Linked DNA regions of Homo sapiens: regions 1 and 3 are each linked to region 2. Evidence: promoter capture Hi-C in 16 types of primary human blood cells and fetal thymus (Javierre and others, 2016). All regions are on one chromosome and are shown on one strand. Each heading gives the region's core, a stretch centred on a gene start or on the middle of the fragment in contact. The rest is flanking DNA. Distances are from core to core; before and after follow the strand shown.

The links. The method cuts DNA at HindIII sites, captures the fragments that hold promoters and counts their contacts. A CHiCAGO score of 5 or more calls a contact.
Region 1: a contact is called between a fragment that was not itself captured here and the fragment with the promoter of NXNL1 in region 2, in 1 of 17 cell types (M2 macrophages). The highest score is 5.2, in M2 macrophages.
Region 3: a fragment that was not itself captured here is called in contact with the fragment with the promoter of NXNL1 in region 2 in 1 of 17 cell types (M2 macrophages); the score reaches 7.3 in M2 macrophages.

Annotation. Positions count from the first base shown.
Region 1 is chr19:17,701,209-17,704,125 of GRCh38, reverse strand. No RefSeq gene overlaps it. Among named protein-coding and RNA genes, the nearest start is that of UNC13A, 14 kb to the right of the region's middle. RefSeq lists a silencer at 2,540-2,767. The HindIII fragment of the contact is 7,500 bases long and covers 1-2,917 here.
Region 2 is chr19:17,459,502-17,462,596 of GRCh38, reverse strand. It overlaps NXNL1 (nucleoredoxin like 1), which reads left to right and starts at 1,671. Exons shown (of 2, transcript NM_138454.2): 1 at 1,671-2,053. The coding sequence starts at 1,728. RefSeq lists an enhancer at 1,265-1,765. The HindIII fragment of the contact is 2,658 bases long and covers 863-3,095 here.
Region 3 is chr19:17,630,880-17,633,743 of GRCh38, reverse strand. UNC13A (unc-13 homolog A) reads left to right here. Exons shown (of 44, transcript NM_001080421.3): 27 at 551-636; 28 at 836-962. Among named protein-coding and RNA genes, the nearest start is that of UNC13A, 56 kb to the left of the region's middle. The HindIII fragment of the contact is 8,105 bases long and covers 1-2,864 here.

The DNA.
Region 1 (2,917 bases), core at 51-2,550, 240 kb before region 2:
ACAGAGGGTCCCTGGTTCCCCTCTGCTCCCAGCCCTGGGATGGCCTAATGGCTTATGCTGCCCCCAGCTGGCCACTCTGGGAACTTTGGGCTGAGGCCCCCTCTCTGAGTCCGGAACCTCGCCTCCATTGGGTCTGAACCTATTACGTTCCTTTGTCTGCCTTTATTTCCTGCCTCCGTCTCCTCCTCTTGACCAATCCAATCACTTTTGTTTATGATCCATCCAATCCCATCCAACCACTCCAGGCCCATCCAGTCATTTTGCAGCCTAGTGTTATTTCCACCCTACATCCCTGCAGGGCAGGGCCTGGAACTTTCAAAAGATTGATGTTGCCTTTGTCCCATTTAATTCTCTGGGAAACCATTATTATTAATTATTATTATTATTATCTGTTGTCGTTGTTATTGTTGTTGTTTTTGAGACAGAGCCTCACTCTGTTGCCCAGGCTGGAGTACAGTGGCGCGATCTCGGCTCACTGCAGCCTCTGGCTCCTGGGTTCAAGCGATTCCCCTGCCTCAGCCTCCCGAGTAGCTGGGATTACAGGCGCCCGCCACCACGCCCAGCTGATTTTTAAACTTTTAGTAGAGATAGGGTTTCACCATGTTGGCCAGGCTGGTTTTGAACTCCTGACCTCAGGTGATCTGCCCGCCTTGGCCTCCCAAAGTGCTGGGATTACAGACTTGAGCCACCGCACCTGGCAGAAACCATTATTTTTTATCCTCATTTTATAGGCGATAAGCCAAGTTTGCCCTCATCGATTTCTCTGCCCCAGGCAGCCTGACAGCTACAATTAAGTTCAATAAGAGGTCCAATCTCAGAGCCTTTGCACACACCCTGCCCTCGGCCAGGAATGTCCTTCCTCCAATTCCCTGTGCTGAGCGAGATCCTCCTTGCTCGCTGGACCCTTGACCTTGGCAAAGAAGGAGCCGCAGAGAAAAAAGGGCAAGAGAAGATACAGACAGCACCGGCATAATTAAGTGGAGGGATGAGAAGGCTCAAATCAATAGCTTTGGAATTAGCTGAGCTGTTGGCTGGAAGAAAATGGGGCACCAGAGCTTAAAAATTAATTGGATCCGAGTGCTCAATGGTGAACGTTGAAATGCCCCTTTCATCATTATGATTATTATCATCATCATTATTATTATTTTGAGATGGGGTCTCACTCTGTTGCACCCAGGCTGAAGTGCAGTGGCGTGATCTCGGCTCACTGCAGCCTCTGCCTTTGAGGTTCAAGTGATTCTCCTGCTTCAGCCTCCCAAGTAGCTGGGACTGACTACAGGCAGGCGCCACCACGCCTAGCTAATTTTTTTTTGTATTTTTAGTAGAGACGGGGTTTCACCATGTTGACCAGACTGGTCTGCAGCTCCTGACCTCAGGTGATCCGTCCACCTTGGCCTCCCAAAGTGCTGGGATTACAGGCGTGAGCCACCACACCTAACAGAAACGTCCCCTTTCAGATCAGCGCGAGATGGGCAAGGGTGTGGATCCAAACTACGTTCATTGAATGAATGAACGATTACACAGACGTCTGCATTGCAGAAACGGCCTATTCTGAGAGTTACTCCAGACCCACTTCACGTCCCAGCCTTGTCCCCCTCCCCCGCCCCGCTGCCTGCTGCCCCAAACTCTCAGGAACTCAGTCTCCCCATCTATAAATGAGCACTTGACTGTAATCCCAGCACTTTGGGAGGCCGAGGCGGGTGGATCACGAGGTCAGGAGATTGAGACCATCCTAGCCAACACGGTGAAACCCCATCTCTACTAAAATACAAAAAAAAAAAAAAAAAAATTAGCTGGGCATGGTAGTCCCAGCTACTCGGGAGGCTGAGGCAGGGGAATTGCTTGAACCCAGGAGGCAGAGGTTGCAGTGAGCCAAGATTGCGCCACTGCACTCCAGCCTAGTGACAGAGTGATACTCCATCTCAAATAATAAATAAATAAATAAATAAATAAATAAATAAATAGGCACTTGAGAGAAGAAGAGGAGCACCTATGGTAAGCCCAAGGACACTGAATTCCATGTTCCCTGCAGGTAGCATTCCTGCTGACCTGATAACAGGGACTGGCGTTGGGCATGGACAGAGTTGTAAAGGGTGGACCCCTGGGTGTGATGTCTTGGCTTTGATAGTCCTGGAAGAGCAGGGTGTCCCTTGACCTTGTATCTATGCCCTTGCCCCAAATAGCCACACCTCATTGCGTGTTGTCGACTATCCCATTGGTGTCTCCAGCCTGCATCTCCCCAGAGCTCCAGGCCTCAGTATCCAATGGCATTGGATATTTCCACTGAGTGCCTTGCAGGCATTTCACACTCACAAGGCCAAAACCTGGCTCTTAGAATAGTTACTCGCCCTGAGATCTGCCCCTTCTCCATCCTGTTGGTGCCTCCACTATCACACAGTAGCCTGGGTCCTGATTCCTGGATACGCTCTTTATTTTATTTTATTTTATTTTTTTTGAGATGGAGTCTTGCTCTGTTGCCCAGGCTGGAGTGCAGTGGCGCCATCTCGGCTCACTGCAAGCTCCACCTCCCAGGCTCATGCCATTTTCCCACCTCAGCCTCGTGAGTAGCTGGGACTACAGGCGCCCGCCACCATGCCTGGCTAATTGTTTGTATTTTTAGTAGAGACGGGGTTTCACTGTGTTAGCCAGGATGGTCTCGATCTCCTGACCTCGTGATCCACCTGCCTCGGCCTCCCAAAGTGCTGGGATTACAAGCGTGAGCCACCGCGCCCGGCCCTCTTTATTTTATTTTTTTAAGAGACAGGGTCAGCCGAGCGTGGTAGCTCATGCCTGTAATCCTAGCACCTTGGGAGGCTGAGGCAGGCAGATCACTTGAGGTCAAGAGTTCAAAACCAGCCTGGCCAACATGGTGAAAACCTGTCTCTACTAAAAATACAAAAAACTAGTGGGGCGTGGT
Region 2 (3,095 bases), core at 422-2,921:
AGACAGAGTCTCACTCTATCCCCCAGGTTGGAGTGCAGTGGGACAATCTTGTCTCACTGCAGCCTCCGCCTCTTGGGTTCAAGCAATTCTCCTCCCTCAGCCTCCCAAGTAGCTGGGATTACAGGCATGCACCACCACGCCTGGCTAATTTTTGCTTTTTTTTTTTTGAGATGTAGTCTCGCTCTGTTGCCCAGGCTGGATGGAGTGCAGTGGTGCAATCTCAGCTCACTGCAACCTCTGCCTCCCAGGCTCAAGCAGTTCTCCTGCCTTAGCCTCCCGAGTAGCTGGGATTACAGGCATGTGCCATCACGAGCCGCTAATTTTTGTATTTTCAGTAGAGATGGGGTTTCACCATGTTGGCCAGGCTGGTTTCGAACTCCTGACCTCAGGTGATCCGCCTGCCTCAGCCTCCCAAAGCGCTGGGATTACAGGCATGAGCCACCACACCCGGTCTAATTTTTGCTTTTTTTTTTTTTTTGAGACGGAATCTCACTCTGTCACCCAGGCTGGAGTGCAGTGGCGCGGTCTCGGCTCACTGCAAGCTCCACCTCCCGGGTTCACGCCATTCTCCTGCCTCAGCCTCCCGAGTAGCTGGGACTACAGGTGCCCGCCACCACACCCGGCTAATTTTTTTTGTACTTTTAGTAGAGACGGGGTTTCACTGTGTTAGTCAGGATGGTCTCGATCTCCTGACCTTGTGATCCACCTGCCTCAGCCTCCCAAAGTGCTGGGATTACAGGCGTGAGCCACCACACCTGGCCAATTTTTGCATTTTTAGTAGAGATGGGGTTTCTCCATGTTGGCCAGACTGGTCTCGAACTCCTGACTTCAGGTGATCCACCCACCTTGACCTCCCAAAGCTTTGGGATTACAGGCGTGAGCCACCGTGCCCAGCCTATTTTTTATTTTTAGACACTAGGTCTTGCTCTGTCACCCAGGATGGAGTGCAGTAGTGCAGTCATTGTAGCCTCAACCTCCCAGGCTCAAGTGATCCTTCCATCTCAGCTGAGTAGCTGGGACTACAGGCTCATGACAACACCATGCCCAGCTAAGTTTTTAATTTTTTCATAGAGATGGGGTCTCACACTGTTGCCCAAGCTGCTCTCAAACTCCTGGTCTCAGGTGATCCTCCTGCCTCAGCCTCCCAAAGTGCTGAGATTACAGGCGTGAGTCACTGTCTGCTACATGGTTTTTTGGTTTTTTTTCTTTCTTTCTTTCTTTTTTTTTCTGAGATGGAGTCTCGCTCTGTCGCCCAGGCTGGAGTGCAGTGGCACAATCTCAGCTCACTGCAACCTCCGCCTCCTGGCTTCAAGCGATTCTCCTGCCTCGGCTGCCCAAGTAGCTGGGATTACAGGTGCCCACCACCACGCCTGGCTAATTTTTTTATTTTTTAGTACAGACAGGGTTTCACCATGTTGGCCAGGCTGGTCTCAAACTCCTGACCTCAGATGATCCTCCCACCTCTGCCTCTCAAAGTGCTGGGATCACAGGCGTGAGCCACCGTGCCCATCTGTTACGTGTTTTCTTAATGCGTTTGCGGCTCTCTCCTGAGAAGGGCCACACAGAGAGCCCTGCCCCCCGCCCTTAGAGGCCCCTCAGGTCAAGGTTTAGGCAGATTAGTGAAGTCCTAAGCTGGTTTTCTAAAGATTTCTATTTCTGGGAGAGGAGCCAGTCAGCAGACCGGGGACCACACGCCGCGCTGTCCCCAGCACCCAACCCAGGTTACCATGGCCTCCCTGTTCTCTGGCCGCATCCTGATCCGCAACAATAGCGACCAGGACGAGCTGGATACGGAGGCTGAGGTCAGTCGCAGGCTGGAGAACCGGCTGGTGCTGCTGTTCTTTGGTGCTGGGGCTTGTCCACAGTGCCAGGCCTTCGTGCCCATCCTCAAGGACTTCTTCGTGCGGCTCACAGATGAGTTCTATGTACTGCGGGCGGCTCAGCTGGCCCTGGTGTACGTGTCCCAGGACTCCACGGAGGAGCAGCAGGACCTGTTCCTCAAGGACATGCCAAAGAAATGGCTTTTCCTGCCCTTTGAGGATGATCTGAGGAGGTGAGGAGGGGCAGGGAGGGCTTCCTGGAGGAGGGGGCATGTTCGCTGAAAGTGAAGCATCCATTCTAACTAGAGTGAATGAGCAGCCCCTGTGTGCCAGTCCATATACTGGGAACTAGGGGGTACAGACAGGGGTGCCCACTTCCACATGCTGGCTTCCATGCCACCCCAGGGAGCTTAGAGCCGAGTGAGAGGAACAGATGCAAAAGACAGAATCAACTATGTAATAGCAAGGCCGGGCATGGTGGCTTAACCCTGTAATCCCAGGACTTTGGCAGGCCGAGGTGGGCAGATCACCTGAGGTCGGGAGTTTGAGACAAGCCTGGTCAACATAGTGAAACCCTGTCTCTACTAAAAATACAAAAATTATCCAGGCGTGGTGGTGGGCGCCTGTAATCCCAGCTGCTTGGGAGGCTGAGGCAGGAGAATCGTTTGAAACTGGGAGGCAGATGCTGCAGTGAGGTAAGATCGTGCCACTGCCCTCCAGCCTGGGTGACAGAGGGAGACTCTGTCTAAAAAATCAAAAAACAAATATATAATAGCGAATTGCAGTAGTGCTCAGAGGACAAAGCTAGGCCACAAAGTGGAAATACAATGAGGGAAACCTTGGTGAGGTTCCGGGGTCAGAGGATGCTTCCCCGAAAAAGTGGCTTTAAAGAGAGACCCCTAGCTGGGCACGGTGGCTCATGCCTGTAGTCCTAGCCACCTGGGAGGCTATGGTAAGAGGATAACTGGAGCCTAGAGTTTGAGGCTGCAGTGAGCTATGATCGCACCACTGCACTCCAGCCAGGGCAATACAGGTAGACCCTGTCTCTTAAAAAAGTAAGGCCAGGTACGGTGGCTCACACCTGTAAATCTAGCACTTTGGGAGGCCAAGGTGAGCAGATCACCTGAGGTCAGGAGTTCGAGACTAGCCTGACCAATATGGCAAAACCCTGTCTCTACTAAAAATACAAAAATTAGCCAGGCCTGGTGGCGCACAGCTGTGGTCCCAGCTACTTGCGAGGCTGAGGCAGGAGAATTGCTTGAATCCAGGAGGCGA
Region 3 (2,864 bases), core at 194-2,693, 170 kb before region 2:
TGGATGGATAAATAGATAGATGGATAGGTGAATGAATGGGTGGATAGTTGCATAAGTAGGTGAATGAATGGATAGAGGGATGGATGGATGGGTGGATGGATGAATAGATAGATGGGTAGGTGGAGGGATAGATAGTTGCATGAGTGGGTGAATGAATTGATGAAGGGATGGTTGGATGGGTGGATAATGGGTGGATGGATGAATAGATAGATGGGTACATGGATGGGTGGACAGTTGCATGAGTGGGTGAATGAATGGATGGAAGGATGGATGAATGGATGGAGGAATAGATAAATGAGTTGTTGAATGTATGGGTGGATAGTTGCATGAGTGGATGAATGAATGAATGGAGGGACAAATGGATGAGTGGGTGGAGGCTCAAAGGGAAACAAAGCCTTAGTGCAGAGTCAGTCAGCAGTGGCTATGAGGGAACCTGAACCCAAATCCCTCTACCCTACCCTACACTCCTCTGTGGGGCAGGGAAGGACAAAGCAGCCCATCCCATCTGCCTTCTGCCTGCCAAAGTTTTATACTTCCATGACTTTGCCAGGTTTCCCCAGGAGCTGAATGTGGGTAAAATCAGCGCTGAAGTGATGTGGAATCTGTTTGCCCAAGACATGAAGTACGCCATGGAGGGTGAGTTTCCCACCCCAGTGTTCCCCAGCCTGGCCACACCAGGTGGCTGTACCTCTGTGTCCCCTCCAAGGCTGTGAGCACCCTATAATACCCTCATGCCTGAGTTGGAAATCAGTGATGGCCAGAGTAGGCAGCCTCTCTGCCGAGACAGAGGGTGGCAGACCCTTCCAGCTGTGCCATCCTCTTTGTCCCTGGCCAGAGCACGACAAGCATCGTCTATGCAAGAGTGCCGACTACATGAACCTCCACTTCAAGGTGAAATGGCTCTACAATGAGTATGTGACGGAACTTCCCGCCTTCAAGGACCGCGTGCCTGAGTACCCTGCGTAAGTCCCCTGCCCCAGGCCCAACCCAAGCCAGAACTGTAGCACTGACAGCTAGAAGGAAAGCCAGAGAGGAAGACTGACCTACTTAGGGTTACCTGGGCATCAGGGGCATGGGTGGGGCTTGAATCCAGTGTTCTCCACTCTCAGCCATTGAGCAGTTGACTCCTACAGCCCAGAAAATTCAGTCAACAGCAACAGGAACCATGTGACTTTCTCATTTTATCCTTTTGACAATTCTATGAGTTAAGGTGGGATCATTTTAATTCCTATTTTGCGGAGGAGAAATTGGAGAGTTAAAGATGCCAAATGGCCAGGCATGGTGGCACATGCCTGTAGCCCCGGCAATCTGGGAGACTGAGGCAGGACTTGCTTGAGCCCAGGAGTTCGAGACCAGCCTGGAAAAGATAGTCAGATCCCATCTCTAAAATTAATGAATGGGTCAGGCACAGTGGCTTGTGCCTGTAATCCCAGGACTTTGGGAGGCCGAAGTGGGCAGATCACCTGAGGTCAGGAGTTCGAGACCAGCATAGCCAATAGGGCGAAACCCCAGCTCTACAAAAATACAAAAATTGGCCGGGCGCAGTGGCTCATGCCTGTAATCTCAGCACTTTGGGAGGCCAAGGTGGGTGGATCACCAGAGGTCAGGAGTTTGAGACCGGCCTGGCCAACATGGTGAGACCCTGTCTCTACTAAAAATACAAAAATTAGCCAGGTGTGGTGGCAGATGCCTGTAATCCCAGCTACTTGGGAGGCTGAGGCATGAGAATTGCTTGAACCCAGGAGGCGGAGGTTGCAGTGAGCCGAGATTGCACCACTGGATTCCAGCTGGGGCAACAAAGTGAGACTCCGTCTCAAAAACAAAGAAAAAAATTATCCGGGTGTGATGGCACACACCTGTAGTCCCAGCTACTCGGGAGGCCGAAGCAGGAGGATCGCTTGAACTCAGGAGGCAGAGGTTGCAGTAAGCGGAAATCGTGTCACTGCACTCCAGCCTGGGCGACAGAGTGAGACTCCATTTCAAAAAATAAATAAATATAAAAATAAAATGAATGAGTGAATAAATGCCACATTCCTTGCCCACGGTGACTCCCAGTACATGACAGACCCGAGATTTGAACTCGGGACATCTGATTCCTGGGCTGTGTGTTGGAGGATAGTACGGTGCCGCCGGTTCCTGAGAATTGTGGTGTCGTTCTCTGCTCCCAGCAGCACAGGAGGATGGCTAGTCTTCTGTTGTACAAGAAACGAAAGCTCTGGCTGGATGCGGTGGCTCATTCCTGTAATCCCAACATTTTGGGAGGCCAAGGTGGGAGGATCACTTGAGGCCAGGAGTTCAAGGCCTGCCTGGGCAACACAGGGAAATCCTGTCTCTACAAAGAAGACAAAAAAAAAAATTAGCCGGGCATGGTGGCATGTGCCTGTAGTGCCAGCTATTCGGGAAGCTGAGGTGGGAGGATTGCTTGAACCCAGCAGGTCAAGGCTGCAGTGAGCTGTGATCGCACCACTGCACTTTAGCCTGGGCAACAGAACAAGACCCAGGAAGGAAGGAAGGAAGGAAGAAGGAAGGAAGGAAGGAAGGGAGGGAGGGAGGGAAGGAAGGAAAGGAGGGAGGGAGGGAGGGAGGGAGAAAACAAGAGCTCAGAGAATAAACCCACTTGCCATGGGCAGTTTATCTGAAGAAGGAAGGAAGGAAGGAAGGAAGGAAGGAGGGAGGGAGGGAGGGAAGGATGGACGGAGGACTCAGAGAGGACTCAGAGAATAAACCCACTTGCCATGGGCAGCTTATCTGAACTAGGATTCCCACAGGCCTGGGCCCTGTTGTAAAAGGGGCCACTCAATCTATTTCATGAGCAAAGTAACTGAGGTTCAGTGCAGGAGGCGAGCAGAGGAGCAGCCACTCAA